Linked DNA regions of Homo sapiens: regions 2, 3 and 4 are each linked to region 1. Evidence: promoter capture Hi-C in 16 types of primary human blood cells and fetal thymus (Javierre and others, 2016). All regions are on one chromosome and are shown on one strand. The core of a region is centred on a gene start or on the middle of the fragment in contact, and the rest is flanking DNA. Distances in the headings are between cores, read along the strand shown. Region 1 holds the start of CCR5 (C-C motif chemokine receptor 5). Region 2 overlaps FYCO1 (FYVE and coiled-coil domain autophagy adaptor 1). Region 3 overlaps FYCO1 (FYVE and coiled-coil domain autophagy adaptor 1). Region 4 has its middle 72 kb from the start of XCR1.

The links. The method cuts DNA at HindIII sites, captures the fragments that hold promoters and counts their contacts. A CHiCAGO score of 5 or more calls a contact.
Region 2: a contact is called between a fragment that was not itself captured here and the fragment with the promoter of CCR5 in region 1, in 1 of 17 cell types (total B cells). The highest score is 5.7, in total B cells.
Region 3: a contact is called between a fragment that was not itself captured here and the fragment with the promoter of CCR5 in region 1, in 1 of 17 cell types (neutrophils). The highest score is 6.5, in neutrophils.
Region 4: a contact is called between a fragment that was not itself captured here and the fragment with the promoter of CCR5 in region 1, in 7 of 17 cell types (M0 macrophages, total CD8 T cells, M1 macrophages and 4 more). The highest score is 16.4, in M0 macrophages.

What each region holds. Positions count from the first base shown.
Region 1 is chr3:46,369,192-46,372,653 of GRCh38, forward strand. CCR5 (C-C motif chemokine receptor 5) reads left to right here and starts at 1,755. Exons shown (of 2, transcript NM_001394783.1): 1 at 1,755-1,797. It overlaps CCR5AS (CCR5 antisense RNA), which reads right to left. Exons shown (of 4, transcript NR_125406.2): 3 at 2,053-2,226. The HindIII fragment of the contact is 2,671 bases long and covers 739-3,409 here.
Region 2 is chr3:45,959,835-45,963,296 of GRCh38, forward strand. FYCO1 (FYVE and coiled-coil domain autophagy adaptor 1) reads right to left here. Exons shown (of 18, transcript NM_024513.4): 11 at 2,391-2,558. Among named protein-coding and RNA genes, the nearest start is that of CXCR6, 18 kb to the left of the region's middle. RefSeq lists an enhancer at 2,124-2,313. The HindIII fragment of the contact is 1,601 bases long and covers 573-2,173 here.
Region 3 is chr3:45,981,710-45,985,171 of GRCh38, forward strand. It overlaps FYCO1 (FYVE and coiled-coil domain autophagy adaptor 1), which reads right to left. Exons shown (of 18, transcript NM_024513.4): 2 at 3,147-3,313. The coding sequence starts at 3,201. Among named protein-coding and RNA genes, the nearest start is that of FYCO1, 12 kb to the right of the region's middle. The HindIII fragment of the contact is 2,652 bases long and covers 309-2,960 here.
Region 4 is chr3:46,097,630-46,101,091 of GRCh38, forward strand. No RefSeq gene overlaps it. Among named protein-coding and RNA genes, the nearest start is that of XCR1, 72 kb to the left of the region's middle. RefSeq lists an enhancer at 11-120. The HindIII fragment of the contact is 516 bases long and covers 1,356-1,871 here.

The sequences.
Region 1 (3,462 bases), core at 505-3,004:
GGGTTTTTTTAAAACCTCCACTCTACAGTTAAGAAAACTAAGGCACAGAGCTTCAATAATTTGGTCAGAGCCAAGTAGCAGTAATGAAGCTGGAGGTTAAACCCAGCAGCATGACTGCAGTTCTTAATCAATGCCTTTTGAATTGCACATATGGGATGAACTAGAACATTTTCTCGATGATTCGCTGTCCTTGTTATGATTATGTTACTGAGCTCTGTTGTAGCACAGACATATGTCCCTATATGGGGCGGGGGTGGGGGTGTCTTGATCGCTGGGCTATTTCTATACTGTTCTGGCTTTTCCCAAGCAGTCATTTCTTTCTATTCTCCAAGCACCAGCAATTAGCTTTACCTTTTCAGCTTCTAGTTTGCTGAAACTAATCTGCTATAGACAGAGACTCCGGTGAACCAATTTTATTAGGATTTGATCAAATAAACTCTCTCTGACAAAGGACTGCTGAAAGAGTAACTAAGAGTTTGATGTTTACTGAGTGCATAGTATGTGCTAGATGCTGGCCGTGGATGCCTCATAGAATCCTCCCAACAACTCATGAAATGACTACTGTCATTCAGCCCAATACCCAGACGAGAAAGCTGAGGGTAAGACAGGTTTCAAGCTTGGCAGTCTGACTACAGAGGCCACTGGCTTAGCCCCTGGGTTAGTCTGCCTCTGTAGGATTGGGGGCACGTAATTTTGCTGTTTGGGGTCTCATTTGCCTTCTTAGAGATCACAAGCCAAAGCTTTTTATTCTAGAGCCAAGGTCACGGAAGCCCAGAGGGCATCTTGTGGCTCGGGAGTAGCTCTCTGCTGTCTTCTCAGCTCTGCTGACAATACTTGAGATTTTCAGATGTCACCAACCGCCAAGAGAGCTTGATATGACTGTATATAGTATAGTCATAAAGAACCTGAACTTGACCATATACTTATGTCATGTGGAAAATTTCTCATAGCTTCAGATAGATTATATCTGGAGTGAAGAATCCTGCCACCTATGTATCTGGCATAGTGTGAGTCCTCATAAATGCTTACTGGTTTGAAGGGCAACAAAATAGTGAACAGAGTGAAAATCCCCACTAAGATCCTGGGTCCAGAAAAAGATGGGAAACCTGTTTAGCTCACCCGTGAGCCCATAGTTAAAACTCTTTAGACAACAGGTTGTTTCCGTTTACAGAGAACAATAATATTGGGTGGTGAGCATCTGTGTGGGGGTTGGGGTGGGATAGGGGATACGGGGAGAGTGGAGAAAAAGGGGACACAGGGTTAATGTGAAGTCCAGGATCCCCCTCTACATTTAAAGTTGGTTTAAGTTGGCTTTAATTAATAGCAACTCTTAAGATAATCAGAATTTTCTTAACCTTTTAGCCTTACTGTTGAAAAGCCCTGTGATCTTGTACAAATCATTTGCTTCTTGGATAGTAATTTCTTTTACTAAAATGTGGGCTTTTGACTAGATGAATGTAAATGTTCTTCTAGCTCTGATATCCTTTATTCTTTATATTTTCTAACAGATTCTGTGTAGTGGGATGAGCAGAGAACAAAAACAAAATAATCCAGTGAGAAAAGCCCGTAAATAAACCTTCAGACCAGAGATCTATTCTCTAGCTTATTTTAAGCTCAACTTAAAAAGAAGAACTGTTCTCTGATTCTTTTCGCCTTCAATACACTTAATGATTTAACTCCACCCTCCTTCAAAAGAAACAGCATTTCCTACTTTTATACTGTCTATATGATTGATTTGCACAGCTCATCTGGCCAGAAGAGCTGAGACATCCGTTCCCCTACAAGAAACTCTCCCCGGTAAGTAACCTCTCAGCTGCTTGGCCTGTTAGTTAGCTTCTGAGATGAGTAAAAGACTTTACAGGAAACCCATAGAAGACATTTGGCAAACACCAAGTGCTCATACAATTATCTTAAAATATAATCTTTAAGATAAGGAAAGGGTCACAGTTTGGAATGAGTTTCAGACGGTTATAACATCAAAGATACAAAACATGATTGTGAGTGAAAGACTTTAAAGGGAGCAATAGTATTTTAATAACTAACAATCCTTACCTCTCAAAAGAAAGATTTGCAGAGAGATGAGTCTTAGCTGAAATCTTGAAATCTTATCTTCTGCTAAGGAGAACTAAACCCTCTCCAGTGAGATGCCTTCTGAATATGTGCCCACAAGAAGTTGTGTCTAAGTCTGGTTCTCTTTTTTCTTTTTCCTCCAGACAAGAGGGAAGCCTAAAAATGGTCAAAATTAATATTAAATTACAAACGCCAAATAAAATTTTCCTCTAATATATCAGTTTCATGGCACAGTTAGTATATAATTCTTTATGGTTCAAAATTAAAAATGAGCTTTTCTAGGGGCTTCTCTCAGCTGCCTAGTCTAAGGTGCAGGGAGTTTGAGACTCACAGGGTTTAATAAGAGAAAATTCTCAGCTAGAGCAGCTGAACTTAAATAGACTAGGCAAGACAGCTGGTTATAAGACTAAACTACCCAGAATGCATGACATTCATCTGTGGTGGCAGACGAAACATTTTTTATTATATTATTTCTTGGGTATGTATGACAACTCTTAATTGTGGCAACTCAGAAACTACAAACACAAACTTCACAGAAAATGTGAGGATTTTACAATTGGCTGTTGTCATCTATGACCTTCCCTGGGACTTGGGCACCCGGCCATTTCACTCTGACTACATCATGTCACCAAACATCTGATGGTCTTGCCTTTTAATTCTCTTTTCGAGGACTGAGAGGGAGGGTAGCATGGTAGTTAAGAGTGCAGGCTTCCCGCATTCAAAATCGGTTGCTTACTAGCTGTGTGGCTTTGAGCAAGTTACTCACCCTCTCTGTGCTTCAAGGTCCTTGTCTGCAAAATGTGAAAAATATTTCCTGCCTCATAAGGTTGCCCTAAGGATTAAATGAATGAATGGGTATGATGCTTAGAACAGTGATTGGCATCCAGTATGTGCCCTCGAGGCCTCTTAATTATTACTGGCTTGCTCATAGTGCATGTTCTTTGTGGGCTAACTCTAGCGTCAATAAAAATGTTAAGACTGAGTTGCAGCCGGGCATGGTGGCTCATGCCTGTAATCCCAGCATTCTAGGAGGCTGAGGCAGGAGGATCGCTTGAGCCCAGGAGTTCGAGACCAGCCTGGGCAACATAGTGTGATCTTGTATCTATAAAAATAAACAAAATTAGCTTGGTGTGGTGGCGCCTGTAGTCCCCAGCCACTTGGAGGGGTGAGGTGAGAGGATTGCTTGAGCCCGGGATGGTCCAGGCTGCAGTGAGCCATGATCGTGCCACTGCACTCCAGCCTGGGCGACAGAGTGAGACCCTGTCTCACAACAACAACAACAACAACAAAAAGGCTGAGCTGCACCATGCTTGACCCAGTTTCTTAAAATTGTTGTCAAAGCTTCATTCACTCCATGGTGCTATAGAGCACAAGATTTTATTTGGTGAGATG
Region 2 (3,462 bases), core at 123-2,622, 410 kb before region 1:
AACAACAGTGCTGGGGGACCACTGGGAGTTTAAGCTAAAACGTGCTGCCATGCCGACGGCGTGCAGTAAGCCCAAGGACCATGAATGTACTTCCCACCTGAATCTTAATGTGCTTGGGGCCCTTTATGTTTCTATGGTTGATCCAAGTAACAATTAATCAGTGGAGAAGATCAAAGATTTCCTAGTGTGAAAATCTGATCAGATGTTAGCCTCCTCTGCCCCTCAGAGAGATGGTAAGGTCACTCCAAGAAGCCAGACTCAAAGAAGTGTGAGGCTTTCCAGAAAGGTCTGGCAGTGTCAGAATGTGCCTGATGCACTGGAGGGGGAGGATGTGAACAGAGGCTTCCTCAGGGATACTAATGAGCATGTTCAGGCTTGATGGTTTCTGACATGTGAAGTTTAGTTCTTTCTCGTATGGAGCCCCAGCTAGCATCCTCAGGGCTAACGTGGCTCTAGCAGCACCTCAGCCACCGGTAATGTGACACCCGAGCCACTCAGGTCCTGAGAGAGACAGGCTCCATCACTGACCAGGAACTCCCAATCAACCCCAGATCTTTTGCCTTAAATAAAAAAGCTTGAACATGGGCTTGGCTGGCTTTTTCAAGGACACTTGAAATTGTCAGGAAGCAGGAAGACTCATTCTCTGAAGCAGCCTCATTCTCTAGGCTGGTCCACCCAAACTTTGGGAATGTGGAATGCTGCCAGGAGCTGGTGTTTTCCATCACACCCCTCAGGTCACAAATACCCTGAGTTCTAACTCTGTATATTGATGATAAGAAGGCAGAGTTTTTAAACTTTCAAATTGGTTATAATTTTAATATCACTGTTTTCTAACACTTAATGAATTAGCATATCTAGGCTTTGCTGATCCATGGTGCTGCTAACATCACAAAAACAGGGCTAATCAGATTGTATGTGCCTCTTGAAGGAAAGACCCCAAACTACAAACCAATTCTATGAAGGCTTCTTACCAAAATTTTGAACCTGAGTCTAAGCAAGCTGCCAGTAGAATGATGGTTCTCAGCTCTGGCTCACTGGTGTCTGAGTCTCACTCCCAGAAATTCCAATTCGGTTAGTCTTGGTGGGGCCTGGACATGGGCATTTTTAAATTACTTTCCTAGTGATTCTAATATGTAGCCAGGATTGAGAACCACTGCAATAGTTCTAACTATGGACTCACAGGAAATGCAAGGGATGGATGATCATGTTAAATGACACCATGGGGATGCAATCGGCAAAAGTAGAGAGATGATAGGGAAACCCATTGACTAAAAGGGATGTAAGAGACACAGCAATTGCAATAGATGAATCTAATTTAGATCCTGATTAGAACGACCTGAAAATATTCTAAGGCAATCGGAAAAATTTGAAACTGACTAGACACTTGATGATATTAAGAAATTATACTTCATTTTTTAAGGTGTAATAAGGACACTGTGGTTGTTTAAAATGGAGGGTTCTGGCACCAGGCATGGTGGCTCATGCCTGTACTCCCAGGACTTGGGAGGCTGAGGCAGGCAAATCATTTGGGGCCAGGAATTCAGAACCAGCCTGGCCAACATGGTGAAGCCTATTTCTACTAAAAATATAAAAATTAGCTGGGAGTGGTGGTGTGTGCCTGTAATCCCAGCTACTTGGGTGGCTGAGGCACAAGAATCGCTTGAATGCAGGAGGAAGAGGTTGCAGTGAGCCAAGATCACGCCACTGTACTCAAGCCTGGGCAACAGAGTGAGACTCTGTCTCAAAAAAAAAAAAAATTCAAAAAATAGAAAATAAAAGAGTCCTTACCTTGGAGAGGTACATATTGAAATATTTATGGATGAAATGATATGTCTGGGATTTGCTTCAAAATAATCTGGGAAGGTGGGTAAGCAGGTGGGTCTACAGATGAATCAAGACTGGCCCTGAGCTGAACACTGTTGAAGCTGGGTGACAGGTACCTGGAGGTGTATTACATGATTCCATTTTTGTATATTTGAAAATTTCCATAAGGAAAAGTTAAAATAAGTTTTGAATGACTTGTCAGCATTAAAAAATCAGGACACTTCACATTAAGATCCAGGTTTCCACCTTCTCTCAAGAAGTAAGGTGGTCTGGCAGTTCTAGGCCAAGACATATGGCAGAAGCAGAGCCCAGCTGTGTCCTCAGTTTCTCACAGTCCCCTCCTGATACAAGCTTCCACTTGTATCAGCTGCCTGGTACCTGCAGGCGCTGGAGTTTGGGACTCTAGTACTGGGGAAAGTGAGATGGAGAAGGAGAGAGGGGCTCCTGAGACAGCAGCAAGAAAGTGGGGAAATTTCTGAAGTATGCTTTCAAGAACAGCTGCATTTCTTTAGAGAAAAACCCCAGTGTGGGGAAAACCCCAGCTGCTGGTTTGACACAGCACTCACCTGAGCAGCTCTATCAGCCGCTCCTCGAGATACTTCTTGGTTCTGTTGAGGTCATCCAGGTCAGCAAGCATCTTCTGGTCATTCCTCTCACGATTTGTCACCTCCTGGCAGAGTTTGTTGTAATACTCTTGGATTTTTGTTGTGGCTTTTTCGAGTTCCTTCTGGGTCCTGGGGGAGGAGTGGTAAGTTTTCTTGATTAGCCAGGACTTCCAGCTTTCCCAGGGCTCTAAGCTCACCCAGGACTCTAATGAGGGGTGCTACTGCCCTCCGCCATGGGGGAGCCCCTTGGTATCTGCTCACAGCTTATGCAGTCCCCTAGCTTTTGAGACTCTCCTCTCACCCCCACATACAAAGGGGCATTCTGGGAGGGAAAGCAGGCTGACCCCAGGTTGCCAGAAGCACCCTAAGTGAATAGAACTCTGCACCCCTTGGCTCCTGGACAGGGGCTGGGCTTGCAAGAGAAGCCTGATAGGCAAGGCTCATGGGCTGGTGATGGGGAGGATGGGCAGGAGGAGAAAGGAGTCAGGACAGGCAGGACAGAGGTGTAGCTTCCTGGAGGTGGCCACACAGAGGAGGGCCTGTCTTCCACACGTCCTTGGGACTCTACACATGGGGCATGGCCCTGGGCCCACAGCAGGCACTCAGTCTTAATCTGCACTGCCAGCTGTTCTACCTGATAGCCCCCCTGAGGCCCAGGGAATTCCGTTTTGGGTGCTGCAGGGTGTCTCAGTCTATAGCAGAGGGAGCTGGCTGAATCTCGCTGTCTTCCTCACCCCACCCACTCCATTTTTAATGCAGCTATTTCCTAAGGCAGTGGTTTTCCAAGGATGGTCCAGTGGGACATAATAAAAGCTCCATTAAACAAAGGGTTCTGCAGAGAGACTGATTACTTTACACCTTCCACATCTAGTATAAAGTTGCCAGGAAGTTGTTTAGTAGACCCTGTCCACCAAAATGGCCTTATAGGTGCACCCACACACACAGGCAGCATATGTGTGTGCTTGCACACACACACACCACACACACACACTGAATAAAATAAGTTGGCAAATAGACTGTACAGCTTTGAGCA
Region 3 (3,462 bases), core at 385-2,884, 390 kb before region 1:
TAGTGACTAAACTCAGACAGAGAAGCAGAAATAATCCAGGAAGCATGAGGAGCAAGTGGTCAGTGATACAAAGCACCTCTGAAACATAAAAGGGTATGTAAGTATCCATGAGATATAACTCCAAGTCAGGGAGTGTTGAAATGTCCTGAGAGCTCACAGATACTTTACAATGCTTGTTGACTGGGCACATTTCTTGTTCACCCTTGTCTGTCCACCACCCAGGGCTAGTAATTTGCATATAGTAGCTGGACAACAAATGTTTGCTGTGTGGATGAATCAATTCAGTCCCTGAATACTGACTTCCAGAAAGCTTTACCTTTATTCTAGCCACATTTCAGGTTCTTCACTATAATCCTACTGCTCATTATAGGTAAGCGCAGGATCAGAATACCCAGTATGTGCAAATAATAGTAGTGACAATCACAATTCCAACAATGACAACCGCACCTGCTTCTGTTAACTGAGTGTCCTTGAGGGGCTGGGCCTTTACATGTATTTTTCTCATTTAATATGGCATTGAGAGGCAGGGATTGCCTTATTTCGATGAATCTAAGATACAATTAATTATAATATACATTACAGTTTCAGAGCTGTTAAAATGTCAAAAAAAAAAGTACAATTTAGAATCTATGAAGTCTGCTATGATTATCCCCATTTTGCAGATGAGGAGTGTACAGAGAAATCAGAGCACTTGGCCAAAGATCATGGGTGGCAAACAGCAGAGCTGGAATAAGAACCCTGGTTTTCTCAAGAGCTGTCTAACTCCAGAGCTCACCTCTTAACTTCTAAGATAATTCACCTCCCTGTGTAGAAAAGAGGAAAACCCACCTTTGACTCTCACTCACTGCCTCTGCTGTGGGACAGAGGGACTATCGAGACACTGGATTTGGTTTAGATCCTGGAAAACCTTTTCCCAGCAGAGATGGTGGGATGTGCTTCACAAAACTATCTGCTTCTCTGGCAATTCTTAAATTCCTAAACCCTGCTCCCAAGAACCATGGTTTGAAGCAGACCTGTCCAGGACTGAAGCCAAGCCTAAGATGGCTGAAAATGTAATCAACACGACCCCTCAGGCAAAGATTAGCAAATGGTGGAGACAGGTTCTTGGGACTGATTCTTACAAGTGACTGTTGTCCACTGTACCTTGCTAGAAGTGTCTGCAATGGCTGGCACTGACAGCCAGTGAGCCAGGGGCCTGGGAGAGACAAAGAGCCTTCCTCCTCCACCCTCCTGCCTCCTCAGGCCAGGTAAACACTCGCAACCTGATCTGGGAACTCCTGAAACTTTGAAGGAGTAGACTCTGGATATGAAATATGAAATTTTCAGCTCTAATCTCTGATATTCTAAGTAATATTAGCTTTGCAGGAATTACTATTTGATTCTTTCAATAATCTTGAGAAGTGGGTGTTATCATCAAACCCACCTGGCACATGAAGGAAGCAACTGTGCGTTGGAAAGGTGAAGGGACTTGTCCAACATTTTCGAGGGTTAAAAGAGAAGCCAGAAGCTGAGCACACCCCTGCCTGACTCCAAAGTCTTTGAAACTGCTGTCACCAAGAGGATAAGTGGGCTGCCCTGCAGAGGAGTGAAGGCTGTGTACCACACAAAGATGCCTCAGTTAAGGACACTCCACTCTCATGGTAGATGCTGTAGATTTGTATGCTTATTAAGACGTTTACCAACAGATGAAAGTGGAGGGTACTGAGAAAGTGGCACCTTTCAAGAATTCCCACCAAAGTGCTCTGTGGCCTATGTAAAGGACATTGAAATCAGCCCAGGATGTTGGGGGTGGCCAGACTCAGCTGGTACATAGGATAGACAATGGTCTAGATCAGAAGCTCTACCTGAGGGTCCCCTATTTCACCCTCTTCCCTCCCAATAAGGACCTCCAGGTCTCAAAGTTATCCTCAAGAACCAGATATTGAAACACAGAAAAGACTATCTACTTTATGGAGAGACCTCTTAAAGCCAGTGGCAAACTCAGATTTGCAGAGACTGGCATTTCACTTTCTCTGCCTCTCTGTGTAGATTTAAAAAAGCATCTAATGTCTTAGCTGAAAGTAGACTAGAGTGGTTAGGAGCATAGACTGGTGCCAGGCTGTTGGTATAGAAAGTGCCCGGTGCACATGAAATGCCATGAAATTGTTAGCTATCAGAGGCCCAAGGCATGGTAGACACAAGATTAAAAGCCTGAGAAAATGTTTTTTATCTTGTTGACTTTGGAACTTCAGAATGAGAACTGCACTGTGGCCATGCTAGGCCAATGGCTCCTGGTATGGGAGATAACTGCTTGTGGTGCCCAAGCAGTTAGAAGCCTGGGCCTTTAGTCTGTCAGAAAAGTGTCACAGCGGACTCTGCAGGCATGGAGGAAGTGGTCAGCTTCAGACTGTGTAGTATCAAGTGTCCTAGAGCTCCGAAGAGCTTAAAGGTCAGCACTGGTGATGAGTGGGGATGGAAAACTTATAAAAACTCTGACCCCTGGGACAGCATCTGAAAGAGTGAAACTTGGAATTTGCAGCCAAAAAGAAAATAGTCCGTTTCTCCTGAGTCTATGAAACTTTATCTGCACCTTCCTCTGCCTTGCTTTTCTCCAGTGAGATAAGGGATACAAGTCATAGCCTCTCTCAGTGGACAACGCTGAGCTCAGGGAAGTCTGGGAGGCAGCAGGACTGGACCTACAGTGCATCCCAGGCAATGGGCCATCCGCCAGCCAGGACCCAGTTGGGCAGCAAAACAAGATAGGTGGGTCTCTGTCCTTCCTGCTCAGTGGGAGAAAGAACATTCTTTTCCAAAGAAGCCAACTTCATCAGAGCCCAGAAGTTTGGGATTTAGCCAAAGACTTAACAGGCAGCTTCAAAACACACATGTGTGCACTAATGGAAATCAGACCCAGTCCTGGAGCCGGGTGTATGATTTTGTTTACAAACTGGCTTTACAGTTCTCTGAAAGGAAACCAGGCAAGCTTTCCAAGCCTTACACAAGGTGGATATTTGAGACCCAAATATTTCAATATGATGTGACCTGAGGACTCCAATTACTCGTTGTGTGAACAAAAATGAAAGGGTTGAATTTCAACTGGCAACAGCAAAAAGCCCTGCCACAAGTCCCTCAAAACCAAACTCAGCCTGCCCAGCAACCTACCATACCTTGCAAGTCTCGGATGATTCTCTGGAGCTGGCTCTCTGCATTGGTGGAGGCCATGGTGAGTTTGCCTTTCTTGTCTGTATGTCTCCTGCCTGGGTCCAGAGGAAGGCTCAGAATTTCGGCCCTCGGTGGCTGTCTGCTCAGCAGTGGTCAGACTCCATGGTGGCACCTGCACAGAGGAAGGGGAGGCCATGGAGGAAGCAGATACAGACACAATTTAACGACAATATTAGAGAACTCTGCTCTGGGCACAAAGGTCACCCTATCTGGGTGTATTCCCTCAACAGGAGGGCTTGACCTTTCTGTGTGGGCCTTGTT
Region 4 (3,462 bases), core at 364-2,863, 270 kb before region 1:
CCTCCCTTCCCTGCATGCAGGCCTGACTTTCTAGAAAACCCTCATTTCTAGAATGAGGGGTGTGGGAGCCTTGGCTAGAGCTGTTCTGGGGCCCAGGGTCTCAAAAAGCAAGGTTCCTGTCCCCTGTGATTGCCTTGCTCCGGACCCCTATGTCTCCAGCACCAAGAGTGTCAGGGTAGACGACGGTGTGGAGCTCAGTGGAGGCGGATAAGGGGGCTGTAGTCATTTTGAAACCTTACGGTATTATAAAATAGATCATCCTTCCTGGAAGCCATGGCCTTCTGTTTTTAAACACAGGCGTTTCTAGGCTGAATTTCTGGGGCCTCCTCTATGACTCAGACTTGATTGCCTAAGAGGGTCACAATCTTTGGTACAAAATTCCAAGAAGGGTCCCTCCCAGCACATGCACATCCACATCCACCCAGGTCTTGTACACCAGCACCTCTCAAACTTTAATGCCCAAATGTATCCTCTGGAGATTTTGGTGAAAGGCAGTCTGGCTTGTGGCCTAAGACTCTGTGTCTCATAAAGCCTCCTGGTGCTGCAGCAGCTGCTGCTGCTGCTCTGAGAACTACACTTTAAAAGGCAAGGTTGTAGACTCTCTACTAACAGCTAGTGGATATTTCTTAGTTACAGCCTCTCATCTTCAAAACCTGACCCCACAATTCCAGACACTCCAGTTAGAAAGGTCAAATTAATTGTCATTTGTTACAGGATCTCACCACGAGTGTGGCTTCTCTTGGACAGGTGAGGGTAGAAGTTTCTGTTTCTCTTTGTTTTGCTTTTATTAATAACCTACTACACACAGAACTTCATTTTAGATAAAATCCTGGCCAAGACATGAACAGGTGTGTAAGTAACTCTGTGGACAGTGGGATTTACTTTCATCTGGGTTCCTGGTGGTGAATGATATCTCCATGTTTAGAGAGCACCTCTCAGTTTGATGTGGCAGTTTTTTGCTGTGGTTATGACTTTCAACATACTTCCTGCTTTTCTTGCAAAACAGAGAAGACTCACTCCTCTGTGGGAGGCCACAGCCCAAATGATTGCTGGCTTCTTCAAGGGCTGGAGCAGGGCTTGCAGGGGATTGCTGGCCTTCAGTGTGTGAGGTCTTTGGCCTTTTTCTACGTGAACATCAAGGTTAATCTATGTGGACTTGGCCTTCTGTTGGAGCAAGTTATTGCAATGCTGTTGGAGGAGCATGAGGTTCTTAGCACTTCTTAGCTTCAGATATCAAGGGAGATTCTTGTCCAACAACAACAGAAAATAGAGCCCAGCCATTTTTGTCATCAAGATTGCCAGGGTCGCATGATCTCAATGGCAATGCTCACACTTGCTAGAAATTTGGATTCATAAGCTTTTGAGTTAAACAGGGTCTGAGAATCCTTAAAGCTAACTCCTCTCTGTTTCAGAGGTGCAAACTGCTAATGAGAAAGATGCCAATCTGGTTCTTATTCTTTTTTTTTTTTTTTTTTGAGATGGAGTCTTTGTTGTCCAGGCTGGAATGCAGTGGTGTGATCTCATCTCACTGCAACCTCCACCTCCTGGGTTCAAGTGATTCTCCTGCCTCAGCCTCTGGAGTAGTTGGGATTACAGGTGCCTGCCTCCACACCCAGCTAACTTTTGTATTTTTAATAGGACGGGGTTTTGTCATGTTGGCCAAGCTGGTCTCAAACTCCTGACTTCAAGTCATCTACCTGCCTTGGCCTCCCAAAGTTGGTTCTTATTCTTTTGTTGTTTATTTGTTTCTTGTTTCTCTCTGAGAGTGTTTAGGATCTCCTTAGATTGTTGGTGCTCTGAAATTCCAAGAGGTTATTTCTATGGATCACTCTTTGTTCATTGTGCTCAGTGCTTGGGGTCTTTCAATCCAAAGCTTATATCTTTCTTCAACTCCGGGAGATTTTTTTCAATTGTTTCTTTGATAATTTTCTGCTTTCTGTTTTCCTTCTTCTCCTTTTCTGAAATTCCTGCAATGTAAATGTTGAGCCACCTAAATTGACCCTATGTATTTTTTTTCTCCAATTACCCATTTTATTTTGGTCATTTTACTCTGTATTCTGCAAGTTCTTCTTGAATTTTTAATGTATTTTTTCTGTCTTTGACTTTTGGTTTCAAAAAAATTGAATGTATTATATTTGTGATAATAAAAAGTAAATATATTTTAAAAGGGATTTAGAACAAACTCTTGGTTTTCAACTGCTCCTTTTTAATAGAAGATTTTTTTTTTTTTTTTTTTTTTTGACAGAGTCTCGGTCTGTCACCAGGCTGGAGTGCAGTGGCGTGACCTGGGCTCACTGCAACTTTTGCCTCCCGGGTTCAAGCAATTCTCCTGCCTCAGCCTCCTGAGTAGCTGGGATTACAGGTGCCCACCACCATGCCCAGATAATTTTTGTATTTTTAGTAGAGACGAGGTTTCACCATGTTGGCCAGAATGGTCTCAATCTCTTGACCTCGTGATCCACCTGCCTTGGCCTCCCAAAGTGTGGGTTTTGTTTTACGGACGTATCATCTTGGTTCTCCAAGAGGATAATTAGAGTTTAAGGTTTTTACTTAGTTCTTTTTCCTTTCCTTGTTCTACCTCCTCCAAGTTCATTTGTTCTGTTGACTTATCTTGGTCCTTTTCTTTTCCTGAGTGAATGGTGTTTGTGGCAGCTCATTTCTATTTATGCATTCTAGGTTGGGTTGTTAAGTTGAAGTAAATGGGGGACTGGGGTCCTTCTGCGAATGAGAAGGTGTGACTGTGAGCTCTCTGGCTGTGGAAGGGGGTGCTGATGGGTAAATCTTGCTTTCTTCTGTGAGAGTGGGAGAAGTCAAACCAATTCAAGGAGACCCCTGCTCTAAGATGTTACTCCCATGTTGGAAGCCTCAGCCCCTTCCAGTCAGCTTTTATTTGCTTTTTAAAAAGATTATTTCTCAAGGGTGCAAGGGTGGTAAGGGATAAAAGACTAAACACTGGGCACAGTGTACTGCTTGGGTGACAGGTGCAGCAAAATCTCAGAAATTACTACTAAAGAATCTATCCCTGTAACCACCTGTTCCCCGAAAACTATTGAAATAAAATAAAAATAAAAAAGGATTATTTTTCCAGCTTTTAAGGTAAAAGCTGCCATTTTCTGCCCATGGGATTAGGGAGAGGTGGGATGGTGAAGGCCAGTTTCCACAGCAGTTTAGGTCCAGTCATTCCATCAATCACTTCCTTTTATGCTCACCCTGGTCTTTGTACTTTCCAACCTCCAGAGGCTCTAACGTGAAGGACATCACCCCCTGCCACTGCCCTCACCAATAACTTCCACTTTTATTGCAACCCCAAAATGTGTTCTGAGCATCTAGGAAGCTAGAAATCAGCCTTCCTCATCAACTTCCTTAAAATTGGGGATTTAAGTAATACTTTTTAGAATCTGTCCACTCAGCTTCCAGGCCACATCCCTCTGACCCAGCTCCACCCCATTTCCATCCTTATTG